Regions from separate parts of the Homo sapiens genome. Here all the other regions are linked to region 3. Evidence: promoter capture Hi-C in 16 types of primary human blood cells and fetal thymus (Javierre and others, 2016). All regions are on one chromosome and are shown on one strand. The core of a region is centred on a gene start or on the middle of the fragment in contact, and the rest is flanking DNA. Distances in the headings are between cores, read along the strand shown. Region 1 overlaps SASH3 (SAM and SH3 domain containing 3). Region 2 holds the start of LOC105373334 (a long non-coding RNA gene). Region 3 holds the start of AIFM1 (apoptosis inducing factor mitochondria associated 1). Region 4 has its middle 39 kb from the start of APLN.

Region 1 (4,602 bases), core at 999-3,498, 370 kb before region 3:
TTGGGAAGGCCTATTTTCTCTCATAGAATCCCTATGAGAGAAAACAGATTGGGCACAGTGGCTCACACCTGTAATCCCAGCACTTTGAGAGGCCAAGGCAGGTGGATCACCTGAGGTCAGGAGTTCGAGACCAGCCTGGCCAACATGGCAAAATCCCGTCTCTACTAAAAATACCAAAACAAATTAGCCAGGCGTGGTGGCAGGTGCCTGTAATCCCAGATACTCGGGAGGCTAAGGCAGGAGAATTGCTTGAACCCGGGAGGTGGAGGTTTCAGTGAGCCAAGATCACACCACTGCACTCTGGTCTGGGTGACAAGAGCAAAACTCCGTCTCAAAAAAAAGAAAAAAAAAGAGAGAAAACAGAGAAGGCTGGCTTCAGCCCAGGGAGGAAAGTTGGCACAGGCAGCTGTGGGGCAGGCATGACCCAAGAAGCTTAAATCACACAGTGGGTTTGGGTTGCCATGGCTCTAAAAGGAGCCACTGAGGCAGTGGTGTGCTGGAGTTGGCTCGTACTGGGCTTATACCAGCTCACAAGAGCAGTTGGTCAAACTGTCAAAAATTGTGCAAGCCAGTTGTTAAACACAACCATTATTAAAAATCAAATTAAAGAAACTTACAATTCAGTTAATTATATTTTTTTAAAAAGGTAAACTGGGCATGGTGGTGTACACCTATAATCCCAGCTACTCAGGAGGACGAGGCAAGATGATTGCTTGAGCCCAGTAAGAGTCCAGCCTGGGCAACATAGGGAGACTCTGTCTCTAAATAAATAAATTTAAAAAAATAAAATTTTGTAAAAACGAACAAAGGTAATACAGTAAATCTTCAAAACTCATCACTTCCTAATTCTTGTACTACCTTTTACTCTTATCAATGCTGCTGAGGTTACGTGCATCCATAGCATCTTCATGGTGGCAATAGCCTCACCCTCATTTCAGACAACACGTCCAGTGATGTCAAAATGGTAGCTTGACATTGGCCGTGGAGGGGAGTGTTTACAACACAGGAATTGGCAACTCATCAGGGCCAGCTGTTAAACAGTTATCACCTCACTGAGGTGTGGTGAGGTAGGGGGAGCTCTGGAGTCTGGCTTGGTTGTGGGTTGCCTTGGGACTTGAACCTGAATTCCCTTGGCCTGAGTTTACAGATGAGGAGTAAGTAACCCTTGGGCCTTACTCCTCATTTGTAAACTCAGGCCAACAATACCACTTACCTTCAAGTGTCACTGTAAGGATTCAGTGAAATGGCAGGCAGGCCTGGCACACAGAAACACAGGCAAAAGTAGTTTCCTCTCTAGCGACATTGTCTGCCCAGTTGTGCGGTAGCAATGGTTGAGTCCAGGTTGTGCCACCGTGGTCTTTTCTGTATGTACATCGGCACTTGAGGCTGACAAAAGCACATCCACATGGTGCCCTGGTTGAACCTGTTTCTGTGAGGTAACCAGGGCAAGGACTGTCACTCTCATTTTTACAAAAGGGGAAGAAACTAGGGCTCAGAGAGTGCCATTCAGCCTATAAGTGGTAGAGTTGGGGTTTGAGCCAGCCCCTAGCTCTTCACTAAGCCCAGGCCCATTTCTTCAGCTTCATGCACACCCCAGCAAGGCTCCTTAAAGCTTCCCGCCTACCCTCCCTGCAGGCAGACACTCTGGAGGAGGGCTCTGCCTCCCCGACATCTCCAGACTACAGCCTGGACAGCCCTGGCCCTGAGAAGATGGCGCTGGCCTTTTCTGAGCAAGAGGAGCATGAACTTCCGGTGCTCAGCCGCCAGGCATCAACAGGTGAGTAGGGGATGCGGGGGACACCTGCCGAATCTGGAGGAAAGGACTGGGTTACAGCCGTGCTGGTGGCACACTGTCTGGGCGGGGGGTAAGAGAAATGAATGCTTACTCTTTGCCTGCTGGGAACATTCTCAGTCCTCTTCACATTAAATCTTCTCAACAACCTCATGGGGCCAGTACTGTTATCCTTGCTTTATTGATGTGGAAACAGGGTCTTAGGGAGGTTAAGTGACTTGCCCAAGATGACCCAGTCTTGAACTCAGATGTACCGTAGAGGAACTTCCACTTGCTATCCTCAGGCCCCGGAGAGGCCCACGGGCAGAGGAAGAGTCTCAGTCACCCTCTTGGACCAGCCCGTCCCCACCTTTCCAAGGGGAGCTAGAGGCTACAGATCCCTGGGCCTCTGATGCCCCAGTCGGGGGTGGGCGTATGAGGTCTCCAGCTGTGAAGAGTCAGCCTCTTGACCCTAGACCATAGTTGCTGGGCTCAGGGCATCACCTGGCATCTTCTAGAAGTCCATGGGACAGGACAAGAGGTGCCAGCAGGGAACTCGTCCAGGCAGGGGCTTTGGGTTCTGCAGCCCCATTCAGCACCGCCTTTCTTGCCCCTCAAGTCCACTCCAAGTTTCCTGCTTTCTCTGCCTCCACAGACACTTCCCTGCCCCCGACTGAAAATCATTCAAAATGCCCACTACTCTGTACTTCCCAGGGAGAAGGAGCCCAACTGAGTTTCTATGTGACATTGTAACTACACATTGAGTTAAGCAGGGAAAGTCAAATATGAATGCAGGGCATAGCTTCCTGGGTGGAGGGAGCGTTGGAGTGGGTATCAGGGAACATGGAGTCTAATGGACTGACTCAGTGCTGCCAGTTATAAAATGAGAAGCCTTGAGCAGTTCACTTGGTCTGTGTGACCTCAGATTTCCGCATCTGTTCATTGGAGTGTTGGCCCAGTTGTTCTCTAGAGGCCCTCCTAATTTGCCCATTCTTTGGTCAGTGAGCCATTTCTCCTCCCATTGCCAACTCTTTTCATGTCCAAGGGCCCAGAGGTGAAGCCGTGCTCCTGGTCGGTAGCCAAGGGGGTGGTTCAGAATCCCTTCTGCAGTGTAAAGCTTGCCAGAGCCCAGCTGCCTTCCCGGTGTATACCCTTGGGATTTCTAGGCAGGTCCCCTGGAAGGCACCTGCTAGGCACTGTCTCAGCTGTTCTAGGACAAAGGTGAGCCTCCTCCCTGCCCCATCTCCTGCAGGCAGTGAGCTCTGCAGCCCCAGCCCAGGTTCTGGCAGCTTCGGGGAGGAACCACCTGCCCCCCAGTACACAGGGCCTTTCTGTGGCCGGGCACGAGTCCACACCGACTTCACTCCCAGCCCCTATGACCACGACTCGCTGAAACTGCAGGTAAGATCAGCATCCGGGCTTCTCTGGAGCCTGGCAGGCTGTGCCCAAAAAGGAAGCTGGACTGAACCAGGCTATGACAGTGTCAGTGGAGGCCAAGGCCCCCCATATCCTCTCTCCCTTGCTCCCTTCTCCTCTCCTCTCCCCCAACAGAAAGGAGATGTGATCCAGATCATTGAAAAGCCACCTGTGGGCACGTGGCTGGGCCTACTCAATGGCAAGGTGGGCTCTTTCAAATTCATCTATGTGGATGTGCTGCCCGAGGAGGCCGTGGGGCATGCCCGCCCCAGCCGCCGACAGAGCAAGGGCAAGAGGCCCAAGCCTAAGACCCTGCATGAGCTGCTGGAGCGCATCGGCCTGGAGGTTTGAGCTTGGTCCTCACTAGTATCTAGTATCAGGGAGGCACAACTGCCCCAGGGATGGGGACCAGGAAATGACAGCTATGCGTAGTTGGGGAGGACCTAGGCAGGGGTGGCTGGTAAGCAGCTGTGCCGATGGCCTGCCTCTGCCTACAGGAGCACACATCCACCCTCCTGCTCAATGGCTACCAGACACTGGAAGACTTCAAAGAGCTGCGAGAAACACACCTCAATGAGCTGAACATCATGGATCCACAGCACCGGGCCAAGCTGCTCACGGCCGCCGAGCTGCTGCTGGACTATGACAGTGAGTGGCTTTAGGAGCGGCCTGGTGAGGGTGTGTGCCCACCGGCATTCCAGGGAGGGGAGGCTTGCCCTGGCCTTGCCTTCTGTCCACGCTCTGCCCTAGGACTGCTCTGCAGTGGAAAGGTACTTTCCACTTGAATTAGAATTTCAGGGAAAGTGTACGGGAGAAAGGAGTTGTAGGGATGATTGGGCCCAACCTCCTTTGGATCAAAGGGGACCCTTAAGGCCAAAGAAGGCAAAGCCTTACTTGAGGCCTCAAAGCTGAGTAATAACAGAGCCAGGATTCAAGCCCACTGCCTGGCTCCAGCTTAGTGCTAAAGAAGTGTGAGCTCCTGGACTGCAGAGCTGGCCTGGAAACAACTCCTACCAGCTTCTAAGCTGGAAGCAGTGAGGAGAGGGGCAGGGCGGTGGCAGGTGCCCAGAAGGAGAGACTGCCTATGGTGTATTTCCCAAGGTCCCTACCTCCACCCCCATATTCTGTCTCCCTCTCTCGTCCCTGGCAGCTGGCAGTGAGGAGGCTGAAGAGGGCGCCGAGAGCAGCCAGGAGCCAGTGGCACACACAGTGTCGGAACCCAAGGTGGACATCCCGCGCGACTCAGGCTGCTTTGAGGGCTCGGAGAGCGGGCGCGATGACGCAGAGCTGGCAGGCACTGAGGAGCAGCTGCAAGGCCTCTCCCTGGCCGGGGCACCTTGAGGTGGCGGTGGCAATAGGCCAAGGCTGGGACCCAGCTGCAAAGGCTGTAGGAGTGGGCCCAGCCTCCCGTGGTG
Region 2 (4,656 bases), core at 585-3,084, 490 kb before region 3:
AAAAATTAGCCAGGCATAGTGGCGGGCACCTGTAGTCCCAGCTATTTGGGAGGCTGAAGCAGGAGAATGGCGGGAACCTGGGAGGCAGAGCTTGCAGTGAGCCGAGATGGCGCCACTGCACTCCAGACTAGGCGACTGAGCGAGACTCTGTCTCAAAAAAAAAAAAAAAAACTTCCATGTCTCCACCTAACTTTTTGAACACACAGAATACAGTTAGTTGTAATTAACTTTTTTATCATTGTCTGCTAATTCTAACATCTGTGTCAGTTCTGGTTTGATTTCAATTAATTGATTTATCTCCTTCTTATTAGTCACAGTTTCCTGCTCTTTCCATGCTAGGGAATTTTTTACAGGATGCCAGACATTGTGTATTCTACCTTGTTGGTTGTTTATATGTCTAAGTTTCTATAATCAGTGGTTCCCATCTAAAGGCAGTTTTGTTTGTCTGAAGACATTCTTTGTTGTTACAACTGGAGGGTGCTATTGGTACCCAATGGGTACAGGCCAGGTATGATGGTAAACGTCCTGCAATACACAAGACAGCCCCCACAATAAAGAATTATGAAGCCCAAATATGTCAATCATTCTGAGGTTGGGAAACCTTGCTGTAATTATTCTTGAGTTTTGTTCCGGGACTCAGTTAAGTTTGTTGGAAATTGTTTGATCCTTTTGGGGCTTTCTGTTAAGCTTTGTTAAATGAGACCAGAAGAGTATTAAGTTTGGGGCTAATCATTTCACCATACTGAAGCAAGAACCTTCTGTGTACTCTACTTGTCTTAGTTCAATCAGGTTGCTATAACAAAATACCAAAACTGGGTAACTTATAAACAACAGAAATTTATTTCTCACAGTTCTGGAAGCTGGGAGTTTGAAGCCAGGACACCATCATCATCTAGTTCTTGTGAGGGCCCACTTTCTGGTTTGCAGATTGCTATCTTCTTGTTGTACCTTCAGATGACAGAGAGAGAGAGAATGACAGAGAGAGAGAGAAAGGAATGAAGCTCTCTCCTATGTCTCCTTCTAAGGGCATTAATCTCATAATTGGGGCTCCATCGTAGTGACCTAGTAACCTCCCAAAGGCCCCACTTCCTAACACTGTCACCTTGGGGGTTAGGATTTCAACATATGAATTTGGGGGGCGAGGGGTATATAAAGACTCAGACTGCAGCACTACCCAATACTCTAATTTTAGCTGGTTGAGAGCAGGCACTATTCCCAGCCCTGTGTGAATTCTGAGCACTGTTCTTTTAACTATTTGGGATAGTTCCTTTTCAAACATTAAATAGTTTCCTCACGTGAGCTAGTGAATCTACATTGTGTTTGTTCCATCCCCACTTCACTGCTAGTACCCAACCTCAGAACTTTCTAAAGATGCTTAACACTCATCATATCCACTCTCACCCCCACCCCAGACCCACTCCTCCTCCTGTATCTCCAGTAAATGTTGCCAGTCCCTTAAGTTAGAAACTCAGGAGTTGCCCTCCACTCCTCCCTCCTCATCACCCCAATATTCAATCAGTTATCAAATGCTGTCAATTTGAACTTGCCAATGTCCCCTGCACCCTGTCCTTACTTTCCAGCCTCACTATCCTTGCCTTCTTAGACCATCATCATGTCCTGCTTTGGCCCTTCATGTGGCAACCCCAACTTGCATCTCCAACATCCCCCTCCCCCTCCACTATACACCCTCACTTCCAGTGCTACAGAACCTTTCATTGCTTATGAAGCAGGCCGTGCCGTTTCACAACTCTATGTCTTTGCACATGCTATTCCCTTTGCCTGAAATATAGTTTTTCTGTTTTCTGCCTGGCAAATTACTTCTCATACCTTAGATGTCACCTTCTCTGTCAAGCCCTTTTTGATTTCTCGAGGCACCTATTCACCCCTGCCCCTTCGTGCTCCTGCTATGTTCTGTTCACACTGTGTTAACAACATTGGTCACATCTGTTTGCACTGCTGCTTTCCCCATTGCTATAGCTCCTAGGGATCTAACAATCCCTGTAGGTGCTTGCTATGGACTGACTTCTGACAACTTCCAAAAAACTCATATGCTGAAGCCCTAACCCCCAATATCACTATACCTGGAGATAGGCTCTTCAGCAGGTAATTAAGGTCAAATGAGGTCATAAGGGTGGAGCCCTAAGCAGACAGGACTGCAGCCTTATAAGAAGAAGAGATCTTTCTCTCTCTTCCTCCGCCACGTGAAGACATAGCAAGAAGGCAGCCATCTTACAAGCCAGGAAGAGAACCCTCACCAGAACTTCACCATGCTGGCACACTGATTTTGGACTTCCAGCCCCAAAAAGTGAGAAAATTAATTTCTATTGTTGAAGTCACACAGTCTCTGGTATTTTTATTATGGCAGCCAGGCTGACTACTACAGTGCTTAATGCATGGTGAGTGCATTTTTAAATGAATGGAAAAGGAAGAAAGAAACAGAAGAGGAAGAGGTGGAACAAATGGGGAGAAAGATGAAGAAAGCAGAAGTTAAGAATGAGAGAAACTAAGGAAACAGGAGGAAGAAGGTAGAGGATGGGAATGAGCTCATGAAGGAGCCAGTATCTCAGTGGAGACCATGCCAGTGTGAGGGAACTACTGCCAACTAGGAGGCAGGTGGGTGCAGGCTCCAGGGCCAGTGCTGAGCATCCAGGCACAAGACTTTTAAGAGAGAGTGTGTGTGTGTGTGTGTGTGTGTGTGTGTGTGTGTGTGTGTGTAATTTTTTCCCCTAGAGATAGCCTAGAGGGGCCACCTTTGTGCTTTTCTCAGAGGCTATGTGTCCTCATTGGCTGGGTAACAGCTGGGTGCCCTTGCCTCCCCGGCCAAAGGCAGCCGCCGTCCACACCCAGCTGCCTGAGGGACAAGGAGGGTGTTTACCCAATGGCCTGTGTCCTTAAAGGACTCTGCTCTCAGTTACACAGCAAACAGCTGGCCTCGAAGGGGCCTCGTCCTGGCCGCCGCGAGCGGGCGGCTTCTGCAGCGTTTAAGCTTCTATCTACCATGAAGATGCTTCCCCCACCCTCATGCCTCCTCCCGGGGGTGGGCATGAGGGGCACTTACGAGCTGAGACCTCACAGGCGACATTTTTTAAGCTGCTCATTCTGACGGAACAGTCCCCAAGACAAACACAAGGCTTTCTGTCTCCCAGGGCTTGTGCGACTTGGTTTCAGACTCTGCCACCCACTGCCGCAGACAGCGGCCGTCTTCCCAGGAAGAAGACATTTCCTGGCGGGGTACCGGGACTGACGGGCGGCGGCGCAGGGCAGTGCCAGCCGGGCCCAGGAAGTGAACGCGCTGGGCCCGCGAAGGAGCGCGTCGCCCGCCCTGAGGGGGGCAGTGCAGCGCCCACCGCGCGCCTTCGCCAGTCCCCTGGCACCGTTGCCCTGGCCAGGGGCCGGGAGAGGGCGTGGCAGCGCGGCAGTGCGCCTACGCACCGGGGGCACTGGGGATCCCGCCCCCACGCTGGTTCCCGCGCTTTCAAGAGCCTCAGAGCCCCGAGACAAGGGGGTGTCGGCTCTACCCACCTGGCCCAGCCCGAAAGAACAGGGCCAACATTTTGAAACCAAACCAATAATAGAATTGGAATACTTTTGATCACTTTTTATTTTCCTTTTCTGGAGGAGAGTTGTGGGGCGGGGGTGGGGAGCTGGTAGAGAGAATCTCAGGGCGCTGTGGCTTTGAGGGCGGGTTCCCTGCGCAAGCAGCAGTGCTCACAGTGCGAGCAATCATGGCTAGGCCCAGCCCGCGGTTAGTTGGGTGCAGGGACGTGACAGGACCGCGAGGGCTGATTCTTTAGTCTATTGTTCCCACTCCTCAGAAAGGACTCCTAGCAAATATATACTGCTAGTCCCAGCTTTCCCGATGGAATGGAACCCCTTGCTTTGCTTTGCTGTCGCTATTCAGGATGGGGATTTTGTCCATGCAGAAAGACATTTACATTATCTACACTGGAATGCCGGCCCACTAGCCTGGCAAAATGCTGAGCCAGCTATTAGATCTGGACTCGTGGAGGAGTGGAGATTTGCCTCCATTCAAGCAACCACATACTTCCCTGGAAGCTGGGAGGAGCACCACTAAGTCCACCCTCTCCTGCCTGGCTCCTTGGTAGTGCTTCTCAAACATTATCACTTGGACAAATCACCTGAGGTCCTTGTTAAAAGTCTGATTTAGAAAATCTGGGGAATCCGGTGGCACCCGAGACTGCATTTTTAACAAGCTCCCAGGTGATGCAGCTACTGCTGTGCACCACACCTTGAGAAGCAAGGGGTACAACATTGCTCTCAACTGCGGCTGCACATTAAAATTAACTTGGGGAGCTTTAAGAACTAATTAGGCCAGGACCCCCACCCCCAAGATATTCTGATTTAGTTGGTCTAGGTAGAGTCAGGCCTTTTTTTTTTTTTTTTGACGGGGTCTCTCTCTGTCGCCCCTGCTGGAGTGGCGGGATCATGGTTCACTGCAGTTTCAAACTCCTGGGCCCAAGCTATCTTCCCACCTCAGCCTCCCAAGTAGCTGGGACAACAGGCGCAAGCCACCATGCCCAGCTAATTTTTTTTATTTTTTGTAGAGACAGGGTCTCCCTATGTTGCCCAGGCTGGTCTCGAACTCCTGGGCTCAAGAGAGCCTCCTGCCTCAACCTCCCAAAGTTCCGGGATTAC
Region 3 (4,530 bases), core at 1,350-3,849:
AGAGGTTGCAGTGAGCCAAGATCGTGCCACTGCACTCTGGGAAACTGAGCGAGACTCCGCCTCAAAAAAAAAAAAAAAAAAAAGTTTAAAGGTAAGGTGGAGGGAGAAATGGTGTATAAACGAACCTTGCTCTTTCCCACCTGTGCAAAAACACACGGTAGATGCTACTACATGAAAAAGAAATCAGATTAAAAGCAGTTAGGAATCAAGCCACAAAACAGAGTTAATTCCTAAAATGAGAGTATCAGAACTTCTTTTTGAAAATTTAACACTACCCTCACCCATTTTTAAAGGCAGATGATGTCATACTTTGGTGCACGGCCAAAGGACAAAGAACAAGTGTATGCAAAGAGATGGATGGATATGTCAGGAAGTCCGAATATATTCTACAGTAGACTGCCTTCAAACAAAGACATGCAGTGGAAAAAACCATTTGAGTCTGTATTTTTCAGTAGTTCTAACAACACCAACCACTTTCCAATGTCTAATAAATCAACTTAACTTTGCAAATGCATATTTAATTGATGAGAACTTTTGGTCAGACTTTAGAATGCTGGTAAAAGTTGTGAGACTTAAGCAAAACAACTACTCAAAGTTTGAAAGGCCAGTGTGGATGAAAAAATTCAGGTTATCGCCGGGCGCGGTGGCTCACGCCTGTAATCCCAGCGCTTTGGGAGGCCGAGGTGGGCGGATCACGAGGTCAGGAGATCGAGACCATCCTGGTTAACATGGTGAAACCTTGTCTCTACTAAAAATACAAAAAAAAAAAAAAAAAAATTAGCCGGGCGTGGTGGCGGGTGCCTGTAGTCCCAGCTACTCTGGAGGCTGAGGCAGAAGAATGGCGTGAATCCGGGAGGCGGAGATTGCAGTGAGCCGAGATCGCGCCACTGCACTCCAGCCTGGGCGACAAAGCGAGACTCCGTCTCAAAAAAAAAAAAAAAAAAAATTCAGGTTATCTCAATTTCTGTGCAACAAGCACAGAGCACCATCATTTCAATACACAAAACCCTCAAAGATGACATCCATTGATAAGGCATTAGTTTAAAAGCTAAGCAGAGGTTTTAAGTTCCAAGAGCAGTATGTCCCAGGACATAACTCAAATACACCTATCAGGAAACATTTTCATTGTGCATAGCAACTGGAAAAACTGTTCAAATGCACATTTGCAAAGACCCTAACAACCCAAGGAAAATATTTTCCACTTTTTATTTTTAAAGCACCCAGGTGTTTCTGTATTGTAAAAGCCTCAAGGATAACTTCTGACATTGCAAATGCCCTAGGGGTGGACATTGAAGGATTACTGATTTTTTTTTCAAAGCAACTCCTACAGGTGGATCATTCATTGCCCCCATGAAGTAACGCAGTACGAAAAGAAGCAGGCTCAAGCCATGCTCAGATAAATTCACGGATATCTGATGTACAATGGGCTAATTACTGGGAAGAGACCCGAATTCATTCTTAACTTTTTGAGGTCAACTTTAGGAAGCAGTATGGAGTTGCAGCGAAGGGATTAAGGACCTGGAGGCTAGCAAACTATCCTTAGCTCTACCTATTAATTAACTATGTGACCTTTGGCAAGTAATTTCACCTCTCTGTGCCTCAGTTTATTATCTATAAAATGAGTGGGTTGACCTTTACCACAAAATCCCTTCCAGCTCTAAAATTTGATGAAACAACTTAATGGAGAACAAAATACAATGCGTTCTGCAAACTGTTTCTTTGAAGCCTTAAAGACCACCAAGAAGTACACGGCTCAGGCATCTCCAATTAAGTCTGGGCCAATTCTCTGGGTGTCTGGTACACAACCAACCGACTCCTTACTTGCCCTGCACCGTTTCTGTTTCACTGGGCATTCAAATCCATGGATCTCATCTGTGGTTTGGAAGGCTGAGCAGATAACACCCTCATTTACACAAGAAACTTAGGCGTAGGGCTTAAACGTCCTGTTTAAAGTCTCAATCGGTAAATGACAAAGTCTACTTGACCTCATTGCTCTAAAAAGGGGGGTGGGGGGTGGGGATGCCGGGGAGGCGCCGACAGCCAGTTGTTCTGGGATCCCTGAACAGCAAACGCTCCCGGGAAAAGGCCTCAAGCCGACTACTGGGTTCAAATCTCTTGAAGGTCAGGTCGGCATGGCTGAGCCAATTCCTCCGCTTGCAAGACTCAGGGTTCGGAGTCTGCCAATTTGGAATTCACGTGACTATGTGTTAAGTTTCTCGCGGGGACGCGGGGGTAGAGGGCTGCAAGGCACAGGGAGCCTAAGGCGCCAGGCCCTCGGACTTGGAGGTTGCCTGGAATGGGTCAGTCACCTGGGAGCCGGTTCCTCTGCCTCGGGCTTCGGACGCACACGGTCCGCACCAAGGGCACCAGCTTCTGCTTCAAAGCACCCGCCGCCAGGCCTCCACACCGGAACATTTCGGCGACCGCTATTCGGGACCTCCTCCTTCCCTTTCCTCTCACGCACGACCGACGGGTCAAACACCGTGAGCCCCGGCCAGCTCCCCCAGTCTCTTCACACGCACATTACGCAGACTCCTCCTCCCAGCTCCGGGTGGGCATTGGACAGAGAAGCCGGCCTGCTAGAGCCGGGGAAGGGGAACGGCGACCGGAGGCCTACTGCGCAGGCGTAGCACTCGCTGCCGCATTGCGATTGGTCCGCACGGCGAGAGGATTTGCGCATGCACTAGCTGGCCGCAAGCTCGCAAAGACGCTGGCTCTAGGTAGCCGGTTTTCGCGAGTTTGTGGCACAGTGTTGGACTGAACGAGTTAAGGAACCTGTTCAAGGAGGGACTCGTGGGGCCGCTTTGATTGGCGGTTGTGCCTGGTGCTGCCGCTGTGTTGGTGACGAGAACTGATAACAGCATCTCACAACAGCGTAGCCCCGGCATCGCACTTTGTTTTTTGGTTTTAGGACACCAGTTACTTGATACCGAAGCCTTCCTGATTCTTTTGCAGTGATCCAGATCCAGTTTTTCCATGAGTCCGAGGCGCGGAACCTGGCTTCCCAGATCCGGCGTGTACTTCCATCTTTTACCAGTTGCCGGCTCTTTCCCACCCAACCCGTTTCCTGGACAAGTAATTCTGCGCTCTTCTTCCCGCCTGTCACCTTTATTTATTAGTTCAGTTGTGTGTCCTAGATGCTGTATACCAGGTGCTACAGATACACACAGTCTCCTGCTGTGGTTTCTGTGCTTGGGAGCAGGATGTTAGCAAAAAGCGTTCGTGCTTCTCGGACTTTCTGGGAAGAGAAGTCTGCTAAGCAGAACTTTCAGTTATGGGAGTAGGGTGAGGGGCTGAGTGTAAATAAGTGTTTTGACTCTGCCAGATATAAGCTAAATTGGAAATAATGTTTTGGCTGCATGCAGAACATACAATGTGCCTGTTTCAAAGATTCAGCTTACATATTCATTTAACAAGTATTTATTGAGCACTTACCTCTTGGATTGTACTATAAAAGGGGCTCTGTTGGGTATGAAAAGTACGGATGGTCCCCGACTTACCCCTCACAATGGTTCGACTTACAATTTTTCGACTTTATGATGGGTTTAATGAGACCTAACCCCATGTCAGTCGAGGAGCATCTGGACTTAAGCATGGTTCAACTTACGGTTTTTTGACTTTATGATGGGTTTATCAGGGTATTAAATGCAGTTTCGACTTAACGATATTTTCAGTTTACAATGGGTTTATTTGGACATAGCATCTATATAGGAAGTGGCCACTGTCTAGTTGGGGAGATGACATATACCGGTCATTGAAATAATATCTGGTGTAGTGCCGGACAGAGCAAGAGAGAAGACTATGGGATGGAATCACTATGGTAGAACTTCGTGTAAGAAGTTATTTGAGTTGTGTCTTGAAGGATGAGTAGTAAAATTCAAACAGTAGAGGAAAAGGATTGATATTTCAGATGGTGAATACTTTCGGACCAAAGATAACATTTTTCATTGTTAAACATGTTGACCTTGGATCCAGACCAACCCACATTGAATCCTGGCTCTGCCACCTGGGCAAGTCACTTAATTGTGCCTCATTTTCCTCATCTACAAATCTCAGGAGGGTGTTCGGAAGACTAAATGAGCTAATATTTGTAAAGTGTCTTAGAGGAAGCACCATGCTGTTTGTTAAATGAAAAGGCTTGGAACTGTTTTAAAAAACCAAAACCCAGCACATTTTCGGGGGACAATGATAGAGAGTACATACTAAGAAGTATTGATGTGGTCAGGCTCCGTGGCTCATGCCTGTAATCCCAGCACTTTGGGAGGCCTAGGCGGGTGAATCACTTTAGGTCAGGAGTTTAAGACCAGTCTGGCCAACATGGTGAAACCCCGTCTCTACAAAAAATCCAAAAATTAGCCGGGCGCCATGGCATGCGCCTGTAATCCCAGCTACTAGGGAGACTGAGGCAGGAGACTCGCTTGAACCTGCCAGGTGGAGGCTGCAGTGAGCCAAGATTGTGCCACTGCACTCCAGCCTGGATGATGGAGCAAGACTCTGTCTCCAAAAAGAAAAAAATAAAGAAGTAGTGAT
Region 4 (4,775 bases), core at 1,657-4,156, 470 kb before region 3:
TTAGGTGTTATACACAATCTAGAGATGATTTGAAATATAAGGCAGGATGTGCATAGGTTATATGCGAATACTATGCCATTTTATATCAGGGACTTGAGCATCCTCAGATTTTGGTACCCGCAAGCAGTCTTGGGCCCGCTATATGTATACATTGTACAAAGATTAAATAAAGTTAATTAGCATATCTATCACCTCCCATATTTATCAGTTTTTTGTGGTGAAAAGCATATTGTTAAGTGGCAAAAAAAAAAAAAAAAAAGCTGTGGGGCTGGGCCTGGTGGCTCACGTCTATAATCCCAGCACTTTGGGAGGCCGAGGCAGGCAGATCACCTGAGGTCAGGAGTTCGAGAGCAGCCTGACCAACATGGCAAAACCCTGTCTCTACTAAAAATACAAAAATTAGCCAGTGTGGTGGCTCGTGCGTGTAGTCCCAGCTACTCGGGGAGGCTGAGGCAGGAGAATCTCTTGAACCCAAGAGGCAGAGGTTGCAGTGAGCCGAGATCACGCCACTGCACTCCAGCCTGAGCGACAGAGTGAGACTCTGTCTCAAAAAACAAAAACAAAAACAAAAAACAAGCTGTGGGACAATATGTATGATACAATATATGTGATAAAATGTACACAACTATATATTTCTATAGGTACTGTACATATACATGTAATGTATGCACGGTATGCAACTGCAAGGACAGAAGTGTAGGATACCCCAAACCCTAACAGTGTTCACCCCCAGTAAAGGTACTAAAATGAGAAACGTGTCTTAAGGAGTTCTTTCCAAATAACTAAATACTTTGGATTTTTGCCAACGTGAGTTGATTCATCAATTTATTTTCTAATTAAAAATGCACTTTCACAGTAAAGCATATGAAAAGGGGCACAGAAACAGATTAGTGGCTGCCAAGGGTTAGGGATGGCTTGGAGGGAACAGGTGGGCATGGGTGGGTAGGAGTAACACGAGGGAGTTTATTGATGGTGGTAGTTATGCAAAACTATACACGCAATGAAACTGCATAAAACTGTGCACACAAACATGCACACACAAATGGGCGCATGAAAAAGCTTGAGAAATCTGAATCAGGTCTGGAGTTCACTTAGTGGCATTGTACTGATGTTATATCCCTGGCCTTGACATTGTACTATAGTTATGTAAGATGTTACCAGCGGGGAAAGCTGCCTGAAGAGGACATGGGACCTCTCTGTATTATTTTTGCAACTTCTCGTGAGTAGTTCTTTGAAAATAAAAAGTTTACTAAAAGGGGGGCACAAAAAGCTTTTTGAATATTTGGAGGTGATGGAAGTGTTTCATATCTTGAATGTGGTAGTGGTTACATGACTGTTTACCTTTGTTTACCTTTGTTAAATCTCATTGAACTTGTACACATCAAAGGGTGAAATTATGCCTTCATAAACCTGACTTTAAAAAGTCTCAGGCCAGAACTGCTCTCATTTGTTAAGATGAAGAAATCATTTACAAGCTTGTGTGCTTTGTTGTTTATTTCAAAATTACATGCAACACACTTCACAATGACCAGTGATGCCTGTGCCCAGTGGGAGGTCCCCGTTAGATGCTCAGCCACCTCCAGCGATGAGGAGCCCATCACTTAATATTGCAGCCCATATCATTGTCAGGAGAATTGTAATAGAAAGTTCTTGATTAGGCCTGTAATCCCAGCACTTTGGGAGGCCTAGGCGGACGGATCATTTGAGGTCAAGAGTTTGAAACCAGCCTGCCCAACATGGCAAAACCCCTTCTCTACTAAAAATACAAAAATTAGCAGGGCGTGTTGGTGCATGCCTGTAATTCCAGCTACTGGGGGTGCTGAGGCACCAGAATTGATTGAACCCAGGAGGCGGAGGTTGCAGTGAGCCAAGATCACACCACTGCACTCCAGCCTGGGCAACAGAGTGAGACCCTGTCTCAAAAAAAAAAAAAAAAAAAAAGAAAAGAAAGAAAGAAAGAAAAGAAAAAATAAAGTTATTTATTAGGCTACTAGTTAGCTGTGTGGCCTTGGGTAGATTACTTCCTGTCTCTGGGCCTTAATTTCCTTATAAGAAAAGATGACCTCTGAGATCCCTTCTCGCTCTAACATTCTAAGTCTCTAAAACTGGGAATTTAAGTTTTGACCTGGTTTTGCCTTCTGGAGTCACACAGAACTTAACCCTGTGTGTTGCCAACAGTCAGCCAGCCCATCGTACACTAGAAGTCAGCTAGCAGCTCAGCTCCCTAGGGCAAACATCATCCCCTGGCCTTTCCCATTGTCCTACCAAGAAATGGAATTGCAGGATCTGGTGATGGTTAGGATCACAGGATCAGGAGTCAAGCAGCCTGGAGTCTGACTGTGGACTTTGCCACTTCCCACCGTGTGACCTTAGGCAGGTCACTTGTGCAATCTTCAGTGTCCTATCTGTAGAAAGGGAATTAGTAGTACCAGCCTCCTGGGGAGAGGGCGTGGGCATTAAATGAGGTAATGTGTGTAAATCAGGATGTGTGGTAGGCAGGATAATGGACTCCCCAATATCTGCACATCCTAATCCCCACAACCTGTGAATATATTGTGTTACAGTGGCAAGAGGAAATTAAGGCTGCTAATCAGCTGACTTTAAAATACGGAGATCAGCGGGGCATGGTGGCTCATGCCTATAATCCCAGCACTTCGGGAGGCCAAGGCAGGTGGATCACTTGAGGCCAGGAGTTCCAGACCAGCTTGGACAACATGGCAAAACCTTGTCTCTACTAAAAATACAAAAAATTAGTCAGGTGTGGTGGTATGCACCTGTAATCCCAGCTACCCGGGAGGCTGAGGCAAGAGAATTGCTCGAACCCAGGAGGCAGAGGCTGAAGTGAGCCGAGATCACACCATTGCACTCCAGCCTGGGCAACAGAGCGAATCTCCATCTCAAAATAAAATAAAATAGAGAGATTGGGGAATAATGATCTTGGATTATCCAGAGAGGCCCAATATGATCACGAGGGTCCCTATAAGTGAAAGACAGAGGCAGGAAAGTCAGACTCAGAATGCTGCAATGTGAGAAAGTCTCCACCAGCCATTGCTGGCTTTGAAGATGGAAAGGCATCGTGAGGCAAAGCATGCAGGCAGCCTCTCGAAGCTGAACAAGGCAGGGAAACAGATCCTCCCCTTGAGCCTCTAGGAGGAACGCAGACTTGCTGACCCCTTGATTTTAGCCCAGTGGGACTCCTGTTGAACTTCTGGCCTACAGAACTGTAAAAGAGTACATTTGTGGTTTGGTTTGTTTGTGGCGTCTTTTAGGGGATTGTTTAGTTTTGTTCTTGTTTTTGTAGAGACAGGGTCTTGCTATGTTGCCCAGACTTGTCGCAAACTCCTGGCCTCAAGTCATCCTTCCACCTCAGCCTTCCAAGTAGCTAGGACTACAGGCACACACCACCACGCCTGGCTAATTGTTTTTAAATTGTTCTGTGGAGGTGGGGCACAGTGGCTCACAGCTGTAATCCCAGCACTTTGGGAGGCCAAAGCGGGCGGATCACTTGAGCCCAGGAGTTCAAGACCAGCCTGGCCAACATAGCAAAACCCTGTCTCTACTGAAAAATACAAAAATTAGCCGGGCCTGGTGGTGCATGCCTGTAGTCCCCACTGCTGAGGAGGCTGAGGCAGGAGAATCACTTGAACCCAGGAGTCAGAGGTTGCAGTAATCTGAGATCAGGCGACTGCACTCCAGCCTGGGTGACAGAGCACGACTCTGTCTCAAAAAAAAAATTCTTTTGTGGAGATGAGGTCCTTGCTATGTTGCCCAGACTGGTCATGAACTCCTGGGTTCGAGTGATCCTCCTGCCTCAGCGTCCCAAAGCTCTGGGATTACAGGCATGAGCCACCATGCCTGGCCCATTTGCGTTGTTTTAAGCCACTAAATGTGAGGCAATGTGTTGCAGTGGCAATAGGAAACTAGTACAGATGGCTGCTGCTCCCTCCTGACTGGTCTCCCTGCACCCACCCTTGCATCTCCCCAGTCCATCCCCCACAACACAGCCAAAGCAATGTTCCCAGGACCTTAGTCAAACTAAGTCACATCCCTTAATACAACTCGTCTCCCTGTACCTTAAATGTGCCTCAGGGCCTTTGAACCTGCTGTTCTCTTTGTTTAAAAGATGTCATGGTCGCCTAAGTAATACCTAATCTACTTTCATAAACTAGCTCAAAGATGAAAATGCTGCTTCCTCAAGGAAGGCTTGAGGAACCCATCTGGGTCAGGTTCTCTAGGTAATAGCACCCTGTCCTCCTCTGTAGCACTTGTAGGTTTTTAAATAAATCCATGTGTTGATCTGCTTCAGGGCTTATTGCCTGCCTTTGCTACCAGGCATGTAAGCTTCCCAAGGGCAGGGACAGTGTTTGTCTTATTCACCTCCCTTAGCCCAGTCGCTGGCACAAAGGAAGCACTTAATAAATGGTAGCTATTATCATTATTTTATTTCTGAATCCTCATCATTCTGATCACCTCCCCAAACACTCCCTAGTTTGAAGCGTCCTTTCTGTAAAGTGGTACTCCTACCTTGGCCCGGTGCTCCAGGGGTGGTATGAACAACAAAATGTAGAAGCTGACAGTGCTGTCCCCACCTACTGGGGACATACCACTTCTATTCATGCTGCTTAAGGCTACCTTCCTTTATCACCAACTTCATCATACTCTCAGCTGCAACAGAGCTGGAGGTCACTCACACCTACACACCCACCTGCTGCAATCAGGACGTCTGCCAAGCCAGCTTCCCGCCATCCCGTTTCTGTATGGTTGCTTTTTGTAAC

Evidence for each region. Contacts are between HindIII fragments. The CHiCAGO score rates a contact against its expected background, and 5 or more counts as called.
Region 1: a fragment that was not itself captured here is called in contact with the fragment with the promoter of AIFM1 in region 3 in 1 of 17 cell types (naive CD4 T cells); the score reaches 5.4 in naive CD4 T cells.
Region 2: a contact is called between a fragment that was not itself captured here and the fragment with the promoter of AIFM1 in region 3, in 6 of 17 cell types (naive CD4 T cells, naive B cells, activated CD4 T cells and 3 more). The highest score is 7.0, in naive CD4 T cells.
Region 4: a fragment that was not itself captured here is called in contact with the fragment with the promoter of AIFM1 in region 3 in 2 of 17 cell types (naive B cells and total CD8 T cells); the score reaches 6.9 in naive B cells.

What each region holds. Positions count from the first base shown.
Region 1 is chrX:129,789,305-129,793,906 of GRCh38, forward strand. SASH3 (SAM and SH3 domain containing 3) reads left to right here. Exons shown (of 8, transcript NM_018990.4): 4 at 1,636-1,777; 5 at 3,024-3,172; 6 at 3,323-3,532; 7 at 3,685-3,835; 8 at 4,338-4,602. The coding sequence ends at 4,528. Among named protein-coding and RNA genes, the nearest start is that of SASH3, 12 kb to the left of the region's middle. The HindIII fragment of the contact is 1,276 bases long and covers 1,611-2,886 here.
Region 2 is chrX:129,675,071-129,679,726 of GRCh38, forward strand. It overlaps LOC105373334 (a long non-coding RNA gene), which reads right to left and starts at 3,400. Exons shown (of 2, transcript XR_938580.4): 1 at 3,059-3,400; 2 at 818-948. RefSeq lists an enhancer at 2,905-3,074 and a silencer at 3,305-3,484. The HindIII fragment of the contact is 2,299 bases long and covers 686-2,984 here.
Region 3 is chrX:130,163,242-130,167,771 of GRCh38, forward strand. It overlaps AIFM1 (apoptosis inducing factor mitochondria associated 1), which reads right to left and starts at 2,600. Exons shown (of 16, transcript NM_004208.4): 1 at 2,310-2,600. The coding sequence starts at 2,415. It also overlaps a transcript of RAB33A not described here. RefSeq lists an enhancer at 2,249-2,588. The HindIII fragment of the contact is 8,785 bases long and covers 1-4,530 here.
Region 4 is chrX:129,691,170-129,695,944 of GRCh38, forward strand. No RefSeq gene overlaps it. Among named protein-coding and RNA genes, the nearest start is that of APLN, 39 kb to the left of the region's middle. The HindIII fragment of the contact is 2,866 bases long and covers 1,474-4,339 here.